2 separate regions of the Homo sapiens genome follow, and region 2 is linked to region 1. The links are contacts of gene promoters, found by promoter capture Hi-C in blood cells and fetal thymus (Javierre and others, 2016). All regions are on one chromosome and are shown on one strand. The core of a region is centred on a gene start or on the middle of the fragment in contact, and the rest is flanking DNA. Distances in the headings are between cores, read along the strand shown. Region 1 holds the start of KCND1 (potassium voltage-gated channel subfamily D member 1). Region 2 has its middle 4.2 kb from the start of CCDC120.

What was found. The method cuts DNA at HindIII sites, captures the fragments that hold promoters and counts their contacts. A CHiCAGO score of 5 or more calls a contact.
Region 2: a fragment that was not itself captured here is called in contact with the fragment with the promoter of KCND1 in region 1 in 1 of 17 cell types (M2 macrophages); the score reaches 5.3 in M2 macrophages.

What each region holds. Positions count from the first base shown.
Region 1 is chrX:48,966,788-48,974,738 of GRCh38, reverse strand. KCND1 (potassium voltage-gated channel subfamily D member 1) reads left to right here and starts at 2,895. Exons shown (of 6, transcript NM_004979.6): 1 at 2,895-5,588; 2 at 7,633-7,795; 3 at 7,895-7,951. The coding sequence starts at 4,468. GRIPAP1 (GRIP1 associated protein 1) reads left to right here. Exons shown (of 26, transcript NM_020137.5): 26 at 454-1,016. The coding sequence ends at 546. The HindIII fragment of the contact is 6,364 bases long and covers 2,448-7,951 here.
Region 2 is chrX:49,050,775-49,058,725 of GRCh38, reverse strand. It overlaps a transcript of CCDC120 not described here. Among named protein-coding and RNA genes, the nearest start is that of CCDC120, 4.2 kb to the left of the region's middle. RefSeq lists silencers at 4,741-5,040, 5,091-5,170 and an enhancer at 5,092-5,386. The HindIII fragment of the contact is 503 bases long and covers 1,344-1,846 here.

The sequences.
Region 1 (7,951 bases), core at 1,646-4,145:
TGGACAATTCATTCGTCCACCAATTTGTCTACCATAGATCCCCCATGCCCATGGGTCCACACACACATCTTTCTGCCCAAACTGCCACCCAAGGACTTTCCCCATCTCTGAGAGTTAGAAAGGGGTCAGACCCAGCTCCTGCCTTTGAGAAGCAAGCTCACACTTAGAAGAGCAGGTGGCCAGAGTGGTGGTGTATCCTGCAGCAGCACCATGCCACAGGAGGCATCCCACTCCCATTATCTGTAGCTCCCCACCCATCCTCATGACTTTTCTGAGCCCTGCCCACTGTTGGGGGTGCTGTGAGCTTCTCCAAGTACCTTCTCATCCCAGGCCAGACACAGCTGAGCATTGATTAATGAAAGGGTGTGAGGGAAATCACAGATGATACCCTACGTTTGGCAAGGGAGCAGCCTGTCCCCTTCTCTGGCCCCTGATGGTTCATTTGTTTCTTAGGATATGGAAGTTCTGTCCCAGGAAATTGTGCGGCTCAGCAAGGAGTGCGTGGGGCCTCCTGACCCAGACCTAGAGCCAGGAGAAACCAGCTAAAGACCTGCAGGCTGCACCCACCTCCTCCCCTTCCTACCCCCTAGGATGCTATTCCCTTGGGCTGTGGTGGAAAAATGAGGGCTGGAGCCAAAATCAAATAGCTTGGGAGACTGGACATTAAAGGGGCTAGAGGCCTGATGGTTAGTGTTAATGATCCTGTCTTAGGGCAGAGGCCACCAGGGAGTGGGGATCCTGAGGGAAGGGGCAGGGATTTCTCCTTCTTCTTGGTCCTGGCTCCCAAGGGCTTCTGTCTTCATCTCTGCATGAGCTCTCCTTCCCAGAGACCAACTCTTTTTATTTTATTTTATTTTATTTTTTAATTTATGTCTGGAGCCTGGCTACTCTGCATTTGGGATTGGGGATGCTGGGTGGGTGTGTGGTCCATGTTCAGCGTTCTAGCAACACGTGTGTGTGTGTGTGTGTAAAGGCTATGCAGCCAAAATACCATCTGGCCAGACGGGCCCACCCACTGACTGTCTCGTCTCGTTCTTTTCAACCAGGAGGAATATGCTGGGGGCGGGGAGGTTTACACCATTGGAATAGGGAGAGAGGTCTCTGGCTGCAACGTTACTCTCTTTTCCCCACCCTCATCCAGCCTGTCTCCATTTACTGCTGACCAGCCCCTCAAACTGAGTGGAGCTGAAATACCTGCAGATATGTACATGGGTAGACATGTATGGGATTGTGGGTATAGATGAGTAGACAGATGGGAGGATGGATAAGTGGTTGGATGGACCGATGGATGTATAAGTGAACGGTTGCATGGACTGATGATGGATAGATTGGGAAATAAATGGATGGATGGATAGGTGGTTAGATGAATAAATGGGTAGATAGATTGGTAGGTGGATAGAGGATGGATAGTAGAGATGTAAATGGACAGATGGATAATAGGTCTATGGACAAATGGGTGGATGATTTAGGTAGACAGGTGGATGGATGGGTTTATGGACAGGTTAGGAGTAAATGGACCAATGGTTGGGGGAATGGATGGATGGGTAGATGAGCTAATGAATGGGAAGGGTAAAGAGTGGGAGAAGAAATGACAAGTGGAGCTATGTATGGACAGAGATGGGCAGAGGATGTCACCCTGCATGTGTTCCGGGTGGGAAGAGATGGGCAGAGGATGGATACATACAGATAGATTGGCAAACAGCCAAATGGGGTGAACTTACAAATGGATGAATGAGTGGGTGGGTAGATTAACGACTAAGTGGACGGGTGGGTGGAGGGATGGATAGAGGAATTGATTGTGTGGGTGGGAGAATGGGTGGATGGGTAGGTGGAGGAATGGATGTAGAAATGGACAAATCAGGAGTGTGCCAAATGGGCAATTGGAAGTTTACACGGGTGGGTAAATCTTGGGTGAAAGGCTAGGCCTGGCCCTGCATTACAGTGCCCCTGTCATCACACTCCTTTAATTAAGATTAAGCATCCCTGGTGTGAGCTGTGTCCAGTGCTATCACCTTTCACATCATGTAATGCTCCAAATGACGCTATCAAGTTGGGATAAGTCTCTCCATCTGACAACTGAGGAAACAATGCAAGTCACTTGCTCAAGGATGCAGCAAGTCAGTGGCAAAGCTGGGGTTTGAACCCACCCATAGCCAGCCAGAGGCATTCCATAATCAGTGCTCCTGCCATCCAGAAGCAGAGCCCTCTAGCGGAGGAGGTGTGATTTGAGGCCACTGGATATGGACAGATAAGAGAGACTACCCCCTCGGAGTGGGGCCTGCCTGAGATGGTAGGGGGGTGGGACCTGGATTGTCCCCCTCTACATTCCCTTTACCCTCATTTCATATCTAAAAACAGGAAGTCCCGTGCTCCAATCCCACAGCCGAAGTCTTAGAGCTGGGGCTGTAACCCATGCTGCGCCCCTCAAGGGGGCGGCTTCGGAAGCTTGGCCATCTAGAGAAACACTCCCCAGCAATTACCCCCGACTCCTGGCTCTCCTGCCTTTCCACAGTCTGGGGGGCAGGGAGGGGACAGCGCTGCATCATTCCCTGTGGCACTCCGCTCTGGGGCCATTAACAGACGCCTTCCCATCGATCGGATCTGCTAAGTGCTGCTGATTCAGGCGAGTGGGGGTGGGGGCCCCTGGGGGCAGAGCGGGTAGGAGCTGGGCAGGAAGAGAGGGGAGTCCAGGAAGGAGGTGGAGAGAATTGGCGAAGTTCCCTGCCACCCCCATTTTCCAGATGACGCGACTGAGGCCCAACCAGCTTTGTAGGAGGCGGAGTCTCCCCAGGGTCCCTCTCTGGCTGTCCTAGGGGAGGGGGCTCAGGGAGCCACGAGGCCCCTCCCTGCCTCTCCATCTCCCGGCAAGCTCAGAGGGGCGGGGAGAGAGAGCCAGAGGAGGAGGAGAACTCAGGCAGCTCTGCAGAGGGGGCCAGGAGCTCGGGTGTTTGGTACCCCCAGCCCCACCGCTGTTGCTGCTCCTGCAGCGGGGACACAGGTGAGGACGCCCCGAGAGAGAGGGGGAGGGGGACCACCACTAGCGCTGTCCTCATCCTTCCCTGGTCCAGCCCCCACGCCCTAACCCATCCTGGGATAGTCCCCAGGGGTCCCACTGGACCTTGCCCTTCCCAGGCCTCCTTCCAGGGACCCCGCACCCTCCCCCTGCCTATGCCACCTTCTCTCCTATGCCTGGCTGTGGTTGCTTCTCTTCCTCCTGCTGCCGCTGCTGCTACTGCCACTGCCCAGTACACACCGCCAGCCCCTCGGGGTGTGGTTTCCCCAGACCTGCCCCCAACGGTGGGACCCAGCCTTCTCCCGGCGTCTCCTGCCAGCTTCCTGCAAAGCCCAGGAGCCCCCCTCCCTGGAGACACACCCAACTCCCTTTCAACACCCCACCCCCCTCTTAATCCCATTTTGGGGTTAACCCCCTTCCTCTTATTTAGTCTTCATAGATCCCCTGGGTGCTCTGGGATTGTGCCCAACTTCCTAACATTTGAGTCCCGGCCCTTGGAATTCCCCAGGCCCCTTTTTCCTCCCTGTAGAACTCCTGAGAGTGTCGACCAGGCTTTGTTGGCCCGTCTAGATACCCACCTCCCCCAGATAACTCTCAGCCTCTCAAAAAATAACCCAGCCCCCTGTCTACCCCTTTAGATAACCCCTTCCCCTCTCCAGCCCTACTAGGAGGCTCTGGCCTCTCCTTTCTTCCCCAGAACTCCTGTAGAGTATAGACACCCCCCCGGGCTATTCTTGGCAACTCTAGGCAGTCCCAAGACACCTTTCAGCCTCTTTACAACCTCCTGGATCCACAGCCACCCCTCAAGATGCACCAGCTCCCTTTCCAGATCCATGAGGGGGGTCTAACCCTCTTATGCTTCCCCTAGAAGTCTTGAGGGTGTGGACAACCCTCCTCACCTGTCTCAGCCCCTCTAGAACCCCCACTTCCAGGCACTCTCAGTCTCTTTCAAGCACCTCTGGTCCCATTTCTACCCCTCTGGATGCCCCAGTCTCCTCTCCACCACTGCAAAGGAATTCCAGGCTCTTCTGCCTTCCCTGAGACTCTTGAGAGTGCAGAGAATTCCCCACGTGTTTCTTGGCCCCTCTAGACGCCCCCAGACACCTCTCAGGCACAGGCTGACTCCTTTAGAATCATCTCAGTCTCTCTAAACCCTCCCTCAGCTCCTTCTTGGCCCCATCCCCACACCCCTTTTCTGCTCTTCTCCATGTCCCCAAGGCCCTTCTCAGTCCCTCAGAACATTGCCCAGGCCCCTCCTAGGTTCTGTAAATGTCCCCCAGACTCCTTCCCATCTCTTTAGTTCTTCCTCCTGGTTCCTCTTGGCCTCTCTAGACACCCCCAGTTTCCTTGTTTGGGTGGCTCAAGGTGTCTCCAAGCCCCCACCATCCTGGAGACAGCCACATTCTCCTAAACGCCACCCTCACTAAGTCTCCCTGGGCTTGGGGAGTGGCACGATGGCGGCAGGCCTGGCCACGTGGCTGCCTTTTGCTCGGGCAGCAGCAGTGGGCTGGCTGCCCCTGGCCCAGCAACCCCTGCCCCCGGCACCGGGGGTGAAGGCATCTCGAGGAGATGAGGTTCTGGTGGTGAACGTGAGCGGACGGCGCTTTGAGACTTGGAAGAATACGCTGGACCGCTACCCAGACACCTTGCTGGGCAGCTCGGAGAAGGAATTCTTCTACGATGCTGACTCAGGCGAGTACTTCTTCGATCGCGACCCTGACATGTTCCGCCATGTGCTGAACTTCTACCGAACGGGGCGGCTGCATTGCCCACGGCAGGAGTGCATCCAGGCCTTCGACGAAGAGCTGGCTTTCTACGGCCTGGTTCCCGAGCTAGTCGGTGACTGCTGCCTTGAAGAGTATCGGGACCGAAAGAAGGAGAATGCCGAGCGCCTGGCAGAGGATGAGGAGGCAGAGCAGGCCGGGGACGGCCCAGCCCTGCCAGCAGGCAGCTCCCTGCGGCAGCGGCTCTGGCGGGCCTTCGAGAATCCACACACGAGCACCGCAGCCCTCGTTTTCTACTATGTGACCGGCTTCTTCATCGCCGTGTCGGTCATCGCCAATGTGGTGGAGACCATCCCATGCCGCGGCTCTGCACGCAGGTCCTCAAGGGAGCAGCCCTGTGGCGAACGCTTCCCACAGGCCTTTTTCTGCATGGACACAGCCTGTGTACTCATATTCACAGGTGAATACCTCCTGCGGCTGTTTGCCGCCCCCAGCCGTTGCCGCTTCCTGCGGAGTGTCATGAGCCTCATCGACGTGGTGGCCATCCTGCCCTACTACATTGGGCTTTTGGTGCCCAAGAACGACGATGTCTCTGGCGCCTTTGTCACCCTGCGTGTGTTCCGGGTGTTTCGCATCTTCAAGTTCTCCAGGCACTCACAGGGCTTGAGGATTCTGGGCTACACACTCAAGAGCTGTGCCTCTGAGCTGGGCTTTCTCCTCTTTTCCCTAACCATGGCCATCATCATCTTTGCCACTGTCATGTTTTATGCTGAGAAGGGCACAAACAAGACCAACTTTACAAGCATCCCTGCGGCCTTCTGGTATACCATTGTCACCATGACCACGCTTGGGTGAGTGTGGACTCTGCGTTGGGGGCTGCCCGATTACACTCACCCTTTCTGTAAAATTAGGAAGTTTAAAGGAATGATCTCTTTCTTTCTTTCTTTTTAAATGGAGTCTTACTCTGTCGCCCAGGCTGGAGTACAGTGGCAAGATCTCAGCTCACTACAACCTCTGCTTCCTGGGTTCAAGTGATTCTCCAGCCTCAGACTCCCAAGTAGCTGGGATTACAGGTACACGCCACCATGCCCAGCTAATTTTTGTATTTTTAGTAGAGACGGGGTTTCACCGCGTTGGCCAGGCTGGTCTCAAACTCCTGACCTCAGGTGATCCGCCCGCCTTGGCCGCCCAAAGTGCCGGGATTACAGGTGTGAGCCACCGCGCCTGGCCTCTTTCTCTTTTTGAGCTTCAGTTTGCTCATCTGTACAAACTGAGGGAGCTGGACTTAATTCTTCAGATCCCTCCCAGCTCTGACAATGCCTTGATTTTCTAGGTCAGGAGACTTGGGTTCAAGGATTGTCTTAGCTGCTCTCTTTCTGTTGATGTCGTTTTCTCATGGCCTCAGTTTTCCCCTCTGTAAAATGGGAAATGCTGATCCCTTCATCATCTAGAGAGGATTCAATGACATCATAGTTGTGAAAGTTCTCTGAATGTTTCTGGTGCAGGATACATAGGTGTTGGCTTTCTAGCACCTTTTTCTGTTTTGGGGACCCATGTCTCCCAACCTTCTAGAATTGTCTGCTGTGTGGGGCACTACTTCTGAGCCTTTGTGATTCCTTGATGTTTCCCAGAACAAGATGTTTTCAGCATTTTTATTATTATTATTTTTTTGTCGATCCCTGCAGAAGAAACAGAGTTGGGATAAAAGTATCAAATGGAATCATCGAACTCATGAGCTTTCCAAAGATACTGTCTAGGGCAGATGCTGTGATCCTTCTCTAAGTTTCCATCACTGGGATTGGGTATACAGTTGGTGCTCAGTATCTGTTGAAGGAATGACTGAATGAATTGGGTTTGCTCAGTTTCTTCATAGAGGTACAAAAAAAAGTTGATTTGGGGTTTCTAAAGCGTAGAAACCCCAATTCTGGTTGGAGGTCCAGGATCAGACTGACAAACAAATACTGAGCGCTGACAGTGGGCTGGAACTGAGTATTTTGATGGCTTTTACTCTATTCAAGTCCTCACAACAACTCTGTGATGGTGGATGGCTGCCCATGTCTCACAGTTGAGGACACGCTCTGAGATGACACATCACAGAGCCAGCAATGGCCAAGTTGGAAAGACTTTTGAGCAGAGTCCTGAATGCTTAAAATGAGTGAAAATACCGAAATAAGGAACAGCCATCCTAGGGCACAGCCTGAGAAAAGGCTTAGAGGCTGAAGACTGCAGAGGCTGTGTTTCTCTGGAGGAGTTCTGATTGGTTCTGCGGTCAGAACAAGAGTATGCAGTGTGATCTTGGGCGAGTCAGTTACAGAATCTCCCTGATCTTCAGGGGAGCTCTCTGTGAACAAGTTAGTAAGGTTGGCTCTGCTCTGTCTCTGTGGGAGGTGGGTGGCATGGAGAAAGGCAGGAGGGTTTCAAGGCTCCTCCCTGTTTTGTCATATGTGGACAGTTTTCAAGGATTCCCCTATAGGGGAATGAAAAGGGGTCCTACCTAGAGCAGGTAAGACAGAGGCAGCCAAAACCAACAAAACACTCCTCCCGGGACTTGAAGCCCTTCGGCTGGCCTGTGGTGCTGGGACTCTCTCCCCAGGAGGCTGTGTTCACTGCCTGTGACTTCCTCATGCTCCCCTCTGCTTGGTTTTCATAGATTTCTAGCTGACTCAGGTGCTTGGTATGTAGCTTGGACAGGGGCAGCAGATGGTAGGGGTTGAGGGCCAGGCCCATTTCTCACTTGGCCACCCAGCATTTTACAGAGCAAGAAACTGAGGGACTCAGAAGGTTTGAGTGCCTGGCCAGGGTCACAGAGCTAGTCCGGATTAGATGGGATGGAGTGGGGGACTGAAAGGTAGGTGGGCACTTTTCCTGACCTTGGCCTACCTCCCCTCGCTCCAGCTACGGAGACATGGTGCCCAGCACCATTGCTGGCAAGATTTTCGGGTCCATCTGCTCACTCAGTGGCGTCTTGGTCATTGCCCTGCCTGTGCCAGTCATTGTGTCCAACTTTAGCCGCATCTACCACCAGAACCAGCGGGCTGACAAGCGCCGAGCACAGCAGGTAACCGCACTTTCCATCCGAGCACCTCCTACTCCCCACACCCCAAGCCAGTCTACTTTGGGGCTTACCCACCTGACCTTTTATCTCCTCTCTCTGCAGAAGGTGCGCTTGGCAAGGATCCGATTGGCAAAGAGTGGTACCACCAATGCCTTCCTG
Region 2 (7,951 bases), core at 346-2,845, 85 kb before region 1:
CATAATGAGACCCCCATCTCTACAAAAATTTTTTTTAAAACTGGCCAGGCATGGAGGCCTGTGCCTCCTCACCCCGTACACTTAGCAGAAAACTGGGAAGAAGGGCTGAGAGTGGTGGGAGTAGCAGCTGCCTCTCCTACTGCCCAAATTCCCAGAGGATTAGACGCTGCCCACCCAAGGGGCAACTTGGATCTGGGCCATAGAGGTGTGGGGAGCTGTAAAGTACATGGGAGGCTTCGGGTGTAAACTGAGTTTTTGTGTCTTGGCACTAAGCATCACATTCTGAGGCCCCTACCCTTTCCTCCCAGGGCAAGGCAGTGGTAGAAGGCCTTGGGGCAATTCCCACCCTCACTGGGGAATAATAGTTTCCCAAGTTGGGGACAGAGGAAGTCAACCTTTCTAAGGAGAGGTCAGGTCTCAAGATCCTTCTGTGGCTCCAGAAGAAATAATCTCAATAAATCAAGCACAACTTACACCCTACAAAACACTTATGGGTTTTGATCCCTCTTGGTTCCTACAAATGTAGCAGGATGGCACAGACCCAGCCTCCTCACAGCCATTTTATAGATGCAGAAGCTGAGGCCTGGAAAGGTGAAGAGGCCTGATTCAGATCACAGTGGCAGAAGAGCAGGTGAAATCAGAATTTCCGGGGGCTGGGTCCTGGCTGGGAGGCAGACAGAGGCTACTCCTGCAAGTGGGAAGGAGAAGTAGGGAAGGGGGCTCATGCTTCTTCACATCCATGCTGGGTCTCTCTTCTTCAGAGAGTCAGGCTTCATGCCAGAGAAGGAAATGAGAGCTTTGAGTCCTTACGACGTACTGTCCCTGCCTCCCCTCACCCCGCCCACCACCACCACCATCACCACCACCACCATCACCACTACCACCTGAGCTCTGGGCCAGTCCCGGCACACAGCACACATCCTGTGCTCCATTCAGGACCATCTGCTCTGTGACCCAGGGCCCAAGCCCTACCCAGACCCCTGCAGCAGCCCACACCATGACCTGAAGTGAGAAAAGCTGCAGATGGGCTGAGCCTAGAGAGGAGCTCACTCTGAATCAGCAATGCCCCAGACTCATACTATTAAGGCCTCCCGCCATCCCTGCCCACCTTTCTTCCTGGGTGTGAGATTTCCAGCATGGAACACAAAGGCCCCTTTCATCGCCCTCCCCACTTCACTGCCTGGGGCGGGCAGTGGTAAGGTGGGCATTGGGGAGTGTCCTCTCGGCCACAGCCTCTCCCACCTCTTATGGGCCACCAAAGATGTTGGGAAGTGAGACAGTAATAAAATCAGAGCCAAGAGGGATGAGAATCTGGCTGGCAATGTAGATTGAGTCTCAAAGCTTAGGTCTCCTCATCTGTAAAATGGGTAAAAGGTGGTTACAGAGACAATGGAGGCCCCAAATAACTTTGAAAGGCATTTCAAAGTGCAAGGAAACACACCATGTCATTAATGACTCTTACTAACAACAATTAATACACTCACACAGAGGTGGGCTGTTGTGGGGGTAACTGGGGGAGAGCAGGTAACTGGACCTCCTGGGCCAGGCAGACAAATGGGGCAGTCACTAACACACATCATTGCCCTGGTCCATGACTTTTAATAGCCTCGAAGAGGACCCAACCTCTAAGCCCTACCCCAGCTGGGCCCTGGGCCTCACGTGACCCTGCTGTCACTAGTAAATGGTGAGTCTGGGATTCAACCCAGCTCTGCCACTTACTAGCTGTGTGACTGCTTGAACAAGTCACTTAACCTCTCTGTGCCTCTCTGTCAATTGGGGACGATGATAACAGTATGTACCTCACGGGGCTATTGTGAGCATTAAATCAGTTAATACATTTAAAGCTTGTGCAGAACAGTGCCTGGTAAGAGCTCAGTGTATGTTGGCTGTCACAGTTACAAGTATTCTTCCCCACAGGAAGTCAGGAATCAAGTAGATACATTCAGACACATTTTTTCCAGACAGAGCTGGTGTCCTTCAGTCTCACTTGATACATTTGAAACAGTTGTTTTTCCTCAGATAACTTGTCTGAACTCTTGCTATCCAAAATCAGAGACTAAATGTATTCAGACGCAATTTTTTTTTTTTTTTTTTTTTTTTGAGACGGAGTCTCACCCTGTCACCCAGGCTGGAGTGCAGTGGCATGATCTCGGCTCACTGCAACCTCCACCACCCGGGTTCAAGCAGTTCCCTGCTTCAGCCTCCCGAGTAGCTGGGATTACAGGTGCGTGCCACCACACCCAGCTAATTTTTGTATTTTTAGTAGAGACGGGGTTTCACCATCTTGGCCAGGGTGGGCTCGAACTCCTGACCTCGTGATCCACCCGCCTCAGCCTCCCAAAGTGCTGGGATTACAGGCGTGAGCCACCGCGCCCGGCCTCAGATGCATTTTTGAGACAGAACTGGTATCCCTCAGCTTCCAAATCCCACTTGCTATCTAGACACGGTACCCTCCCTGCTCACCAAATGAGACATATTTGAAACAGAGCTGTTTCCCTCATGATCCAACCTCTCCTTTCTCAACATCAAAAATGCAGGAACCAAATACATTCAGAGAAATTGTCTGAACTCTCACCATCCAAATGCAAGAACTGAATGGATTCAGAAACATTTTTGAGATACGACTGGTATCCCTCATTCTTGAACTTTCCTTACCCTCCAAACAAAATGCAGGAACCATTTACATAACAGGGTACCCTCACTATCCCAACTCTTGTCCCTGGAGCTCAGGAAAGTTCATAGATTTGGATACATTTTTTAGTTAGTCATTATTCTTCATTATCTCAATTTTCCCTACTCACTATGTAAGATGTGAAAACAAAATACCTTCAAATAACTTGGTAGGTTTCACTGTCTGAACTTCGGGCACTCTCCCTCTCAGAATTCAGGTACCAAATAGATTGGGAAAGTGAGGAATGCTTGTTTTGTTATCAATAGGTTTGGATAGATTTTCAGGATAAGATAGGTCTGGCATCTTGTTATTCAAACTCACTAGTCTCTATGAGAAATGCAGGAACAAAACCCAATTGAGTAACACATTACCCTCTAGCTATCCAAGTTCTCCCCATCATCCTCAGAATCAAGGAGATTCGGACAATGAGGGGAACACTGCATTATTGTTGTTACTGTTACCACTGGATAGGCCTGATTCTTAAATCCAGTGACTGCCTGGCCTTCTCCCCCAAGACAAGCCCCACAGAGGTGGAGTGGACTTAGCACCAAGATTTTTATTGCTTACTGCTGAGAGAAGGAGGATGAATCCTTGACCCCATCCCTCCTCTATACCAAGTCCCGAAGCCTTGGCCTAGAATAGACTTCTTCTTTTTCAGTCCAGGAAAGCAGGGATCATGCACCCAGAATCAAACATGGCCTAGAAGATTCATACATACCCCTGGGTCCCCCATCTCTTCATATTTTCTTAACTCTTCCCCCCAACATGAGGCAGTCCCCAACACAGCAAGACTGGAAACATGACCCAGACCTCTCAGACTCCCAGAGAGTCACTGAATAATTTAGGGTATTCTTTCACACTTGCAGAGGGCAGGGGCGTAGGAACAGTTGCATGCCCTCCTGGGGCAGGAAGAGAAATGTAAGCTCTATGTAAGATCACTAGGGTGGGGATAGGGGAGATCACACACAAAAACCCCCATCAGCCACGCAGGGCACATAGGGCTGCTTGCTCTTGCTAAGAGAAGCATTTGGGATGTACTTCGGAGGTCCTGGGAACAGCAGAATCTTCAAGTTCCGGGCACAGTATAATGGGACCCCTGTCCTCGGCTCAGAAGGGATGGCAAGTGGATATTAGGAAGGAAGAAGATCTGAACAGGGTGGAGGGGCATGGTAAGGGGAAGAACACCCTGGGGCTGGGATGGGAAGGGACAGAACAGGAAGGAGTGTAGGGGACAAGATAGAGCCAGAGTTATCACAGGATGGAGGTCAAGAGGCAGGATGGGGAATGAGCCAGAACACTGGCCAGGGGATGGGATAAGGTGGGGTTCAGGACAAGGGTCAGAGAAAAAGTACAAGAAAGAGACAAAACAGCAGGGCAGGGGTCAGGATTAACATAGAACAGCAGTCAGAAGACATGACTAGGAAAGGCTAAGCCAGTGGTCAAAGGAGGGGACAGGGAAAAGGGCAGGTTCAGGATGGAGGTCAGGAACAGGAAAAGACCAGGACACAATGAGGATAGGAATGAGTATGGTGATGGGACAAGAAAAGAGGGAAAAACGGGGCAGAGTCAGGGGCAGGGACAAGGCAGGAGACGAAGGTGGTGAGCCAGGATGCAGATCACGAGTATATAGGAGAGGATATCACATAGGGTGCAGAGAAAGGACAGAAGTTAGAGGGCAGGAATCAGGACAGAACTACACCAGATTGTGGTTAGGGGGACAGGACATGACTGGAAGAGGTTTGGAGACTGGATAAGAGTTTAGGGAACAGACAGGTCAAGCGTCAGGACAGAAACTGGGGTCAGTGTTGGGCATTAGGATAGGGCAAGATGTTTCAGAGATGAGACGGGGTCAGGCAAGGATCAGGGTCAGGTCAAAGATCCCCAGGACATAACTGGATGGGGTTTGGGGTCAGGACTGGATTTAGGGGGACAAAACAGGGGTTGAGGACCATACCAGGCCAGAATATGGTTAGGTCAGGGCTCGGATGGAAGGTCCTGAGGCCAAGGCCAGCAGGGGTTGAGGTTTAAAAAAGATGTAGTCAGGTCGTAAGGGGTCAGGGCTGAGGCCACGGGGTCAGAGGTCGCGGGTGCGCGCGCAGGTACGCCCCGTCGGCGTTTCCGGGCCTTCACCCCACCCTGTCCCCTCCCTTCCTCCGCAGGCGGGGCTGGTTACTCACCAAGGGTCCCCGCGCCGCAGTAGGCGGGGTCGGTGTCGGTCGGCCGGCCGGGGCAGTGGACGCGCCCCTCCCTCACTGCGCCCTGCTCGTCCCCGGGCGCGCGCCTGCTCCTCTTCGGCGCCCTGCCCGTGGGCCGTGTTCGGCTGCGCTACCGTTAGCCGTGGGGGCCAGACGGGGGTCGCGGGGAGGGTAGGAGGGGAGCGCCGGCCCGGCCGCGGGCGATGGACCCCCGCCCCCACCTCTAACTCGGGTCTGTCCGCTTCCAGCGGCACGGCCACCTCCGCCGCTCAGCCTAGCCTAGAGGGTGGGGGGACCGGGGGGCGGGGCACGAGACCACAGCAGTGGCGGAGACTAAGTGCGCAAGCGCCGGCTCGGGTCTTCGATTTTTCTTGCCCTGGGAGCGCCAGGAGCGAACAAGCTGGGAGCGCGTGCGCACACGCTTTCTCGAGGGCGGCGGAGCCCTCCCTCGCCGAAGCCACGCCCCTCAGGGAGCCTACTGGCGCCCCTCACCCCAAGTCGTCCCCCAGGGACCCTCAAGCAGTACCCCAAGCTGCTCTCTGTAAGCTCTCCCCACACCTGTAAACCCCAGCTACCCTCCCTGTTGTTCCTCAAATGCACTCCAAACCAACCTCCATTATCCTCCAAATTATATCCCCAAACTACTGTCTGTTGATTCCAAGCGGTACCTCCAGTCCACCCTCTATGGACACCCAAGCTGTGGCAGTAAACTACCTTACACTACCCCCAGTTTGCTCCATCAAACCATCTGCAATCAGCCCTGAAACCATTACCCTCCAAACAGCATGTCCAAATCACCTGCTATCTACTTCCAATGTGCACCCGTAACACCCTCCATTGACCCCAAACTCCTCTCCATGTACCCTCCAAACCATACTCCATTGACCCAAAATGGCTCTCCAGGAGCCCCCAACACCAGCCCAAACATTCCTAATTACCCTCAACGTGGGCCTCACCTGCACCACAAAATAATTCCAACAGTCACCCACACTACCTCCAAACCATGTTCCATGGACCCCTCTTACCCAGCCACCTTTCATTGACCTCCCCTCGTATCCCCACAAAATTACCTTCCAACAGCCCCTATCACTGTGCCATATAACCCAACTATACTTTCTGTGGTCTTTCAACTGCATTTCAAGCCACCCTCCAGCACCATCTACACCTCTAACCCACACTCCACTGACCCAAACTGCACCTCAAACACTCTCCAACAGTCCTCAACTGTACCTCCGAATAGCCACCAACCATCCTGCTGTAGTTACCCAATTGGGCTCCCAAATCATACTCCAGTGGCCCCAAATGTGTCCCCTAAGCCCTCCAAAGACTTACTTGCACCCTGGATCATACTTAAGTGACCTAAATTACAAAGCACTCTCAGTGATTTTTTTCTTAAAACAACTTAACCGGGATATAATTTACGTACCAGGCCGGGAACAGTGGCTCACACTTGTAATCCCGGCACTTTGGGAGGCCAAGGCGAGTGGATCACTTGAGGCCAAGAGTTCAAGACCAGCCTGGCCAACATGGTGAAACCCCGTCTCTACTAAAAATACAAAAAAGTAGCTGGGCATGATGGCTCACACCTGTAATCCCAGCTACTCAGGAGGCTGAGGCAGGAGAATCGCTTAAACCCAGGAGGTGGAGGTTGCAGTGAGCCAAGATAGTGCCACTGCACTCTAACCTGGGCAACAGAGTGAGACTCCATCTCAAAAAATAATAATGATAATTATGTACCATAAAAGTCATCCACGATTAAGTGTGCAATGCAACAACTTTAGTAAATTTACCTAAGTGAGGCACAGTGGCTCACACTTGTAATCCTAGCACTTTGAGAGGCCAAGGTGGGCAGATCACCTGAGGTCAGGAGTTCAGGACCAGCCTGGCCAACATGGTGAAACCCCATCTCTACTAAAAATACAAAAATTAGCCAGGCGTGGTGGCAGGCACCTGTAATCCCAGCTACTCAGGGGGCTGAGGCAGGAGAATAGCTTGAACCTGGAAGGCGGAGGTTGCAGTGAGCTGAGATCATGCCACTGCACTCCAGCCTGGGCGACAGAGCAAGACTCTGTCTCAAAAAAAAAAAAAAAGAAAAGAAAAAAAAAAGAAAAAAATATTTACCAAAGTGTGCAACAATCGCTATAGCCCAGTTTTAGAGCATTTCCATTACCCCAAAAAAATCCCTCATGACTGAATGCCATTCCCATTCCCAACCATAGGCAACCACAAATCTACTTTCTGTCTCTATAAATTTGCCTTTCTTGGACATTTCATAAAAATGCAATATGTGGATTTTTTGTGTCTCACATCTTTCATTTAGCTTGATGTTTTTGAGGTTCATCCGTGTGGTAGCATGTAACAGTGGTTTGTTCCTTTTATTGCTGAACAGTAGTCTATCCAATGATCTTTAACTTCTCTCCAAATTACCCACCAATAGCTCCTCAACCACAACTCAAAACACCCCTCTGACATCCAGACTTCAAAACAGACCCCCAAACTGCACACTGGACCATACCTACCAGCCCTCAACTGTACCCCAGACCACTCTATAATCCCCAAATATCATCACTAAACTTCCCTCCCGAGCCTCATCTTCACCCCTAAAGCACCTTCCAGCAGTCTGCTCTACATCCTCAAACTGCCCTTTATCAACTCCCAAGAATATCCCCAAAATGCCTTTTCAGTAATACCCAAACCTAACTAAACTACTCTCCAACAATTCCAAACCCCACCCCTAAAATTCCCCTTCCAACAGCCCCAGCCATGACTCTACCCACTAACTACCTTCCTTTGGTCCCAGAACTGCAGACCCAGACTGTAACCTCAAACCACTCTTCACTGACCGCCATGCCCAACCTTGTCTTTTTTTTTTTTTTTTTTTTTTTTTGGAGATGCAGTTTGGCTGTTGTTGCCCAGGCTGGAGTGCAATGGTGAGATCTCTGCTCACTGCAACCTTCGCCTCCTGGGTTCAAGCGATTCTCCTGCCTCAGCCCCACGAGTAGCTGGGATTACAGGCATGTGTCACCACGCCCGGCTAATTTTGTATTTTTAGTAAAGACGGGGTTTCTCCATGTTGGTCAGGCTG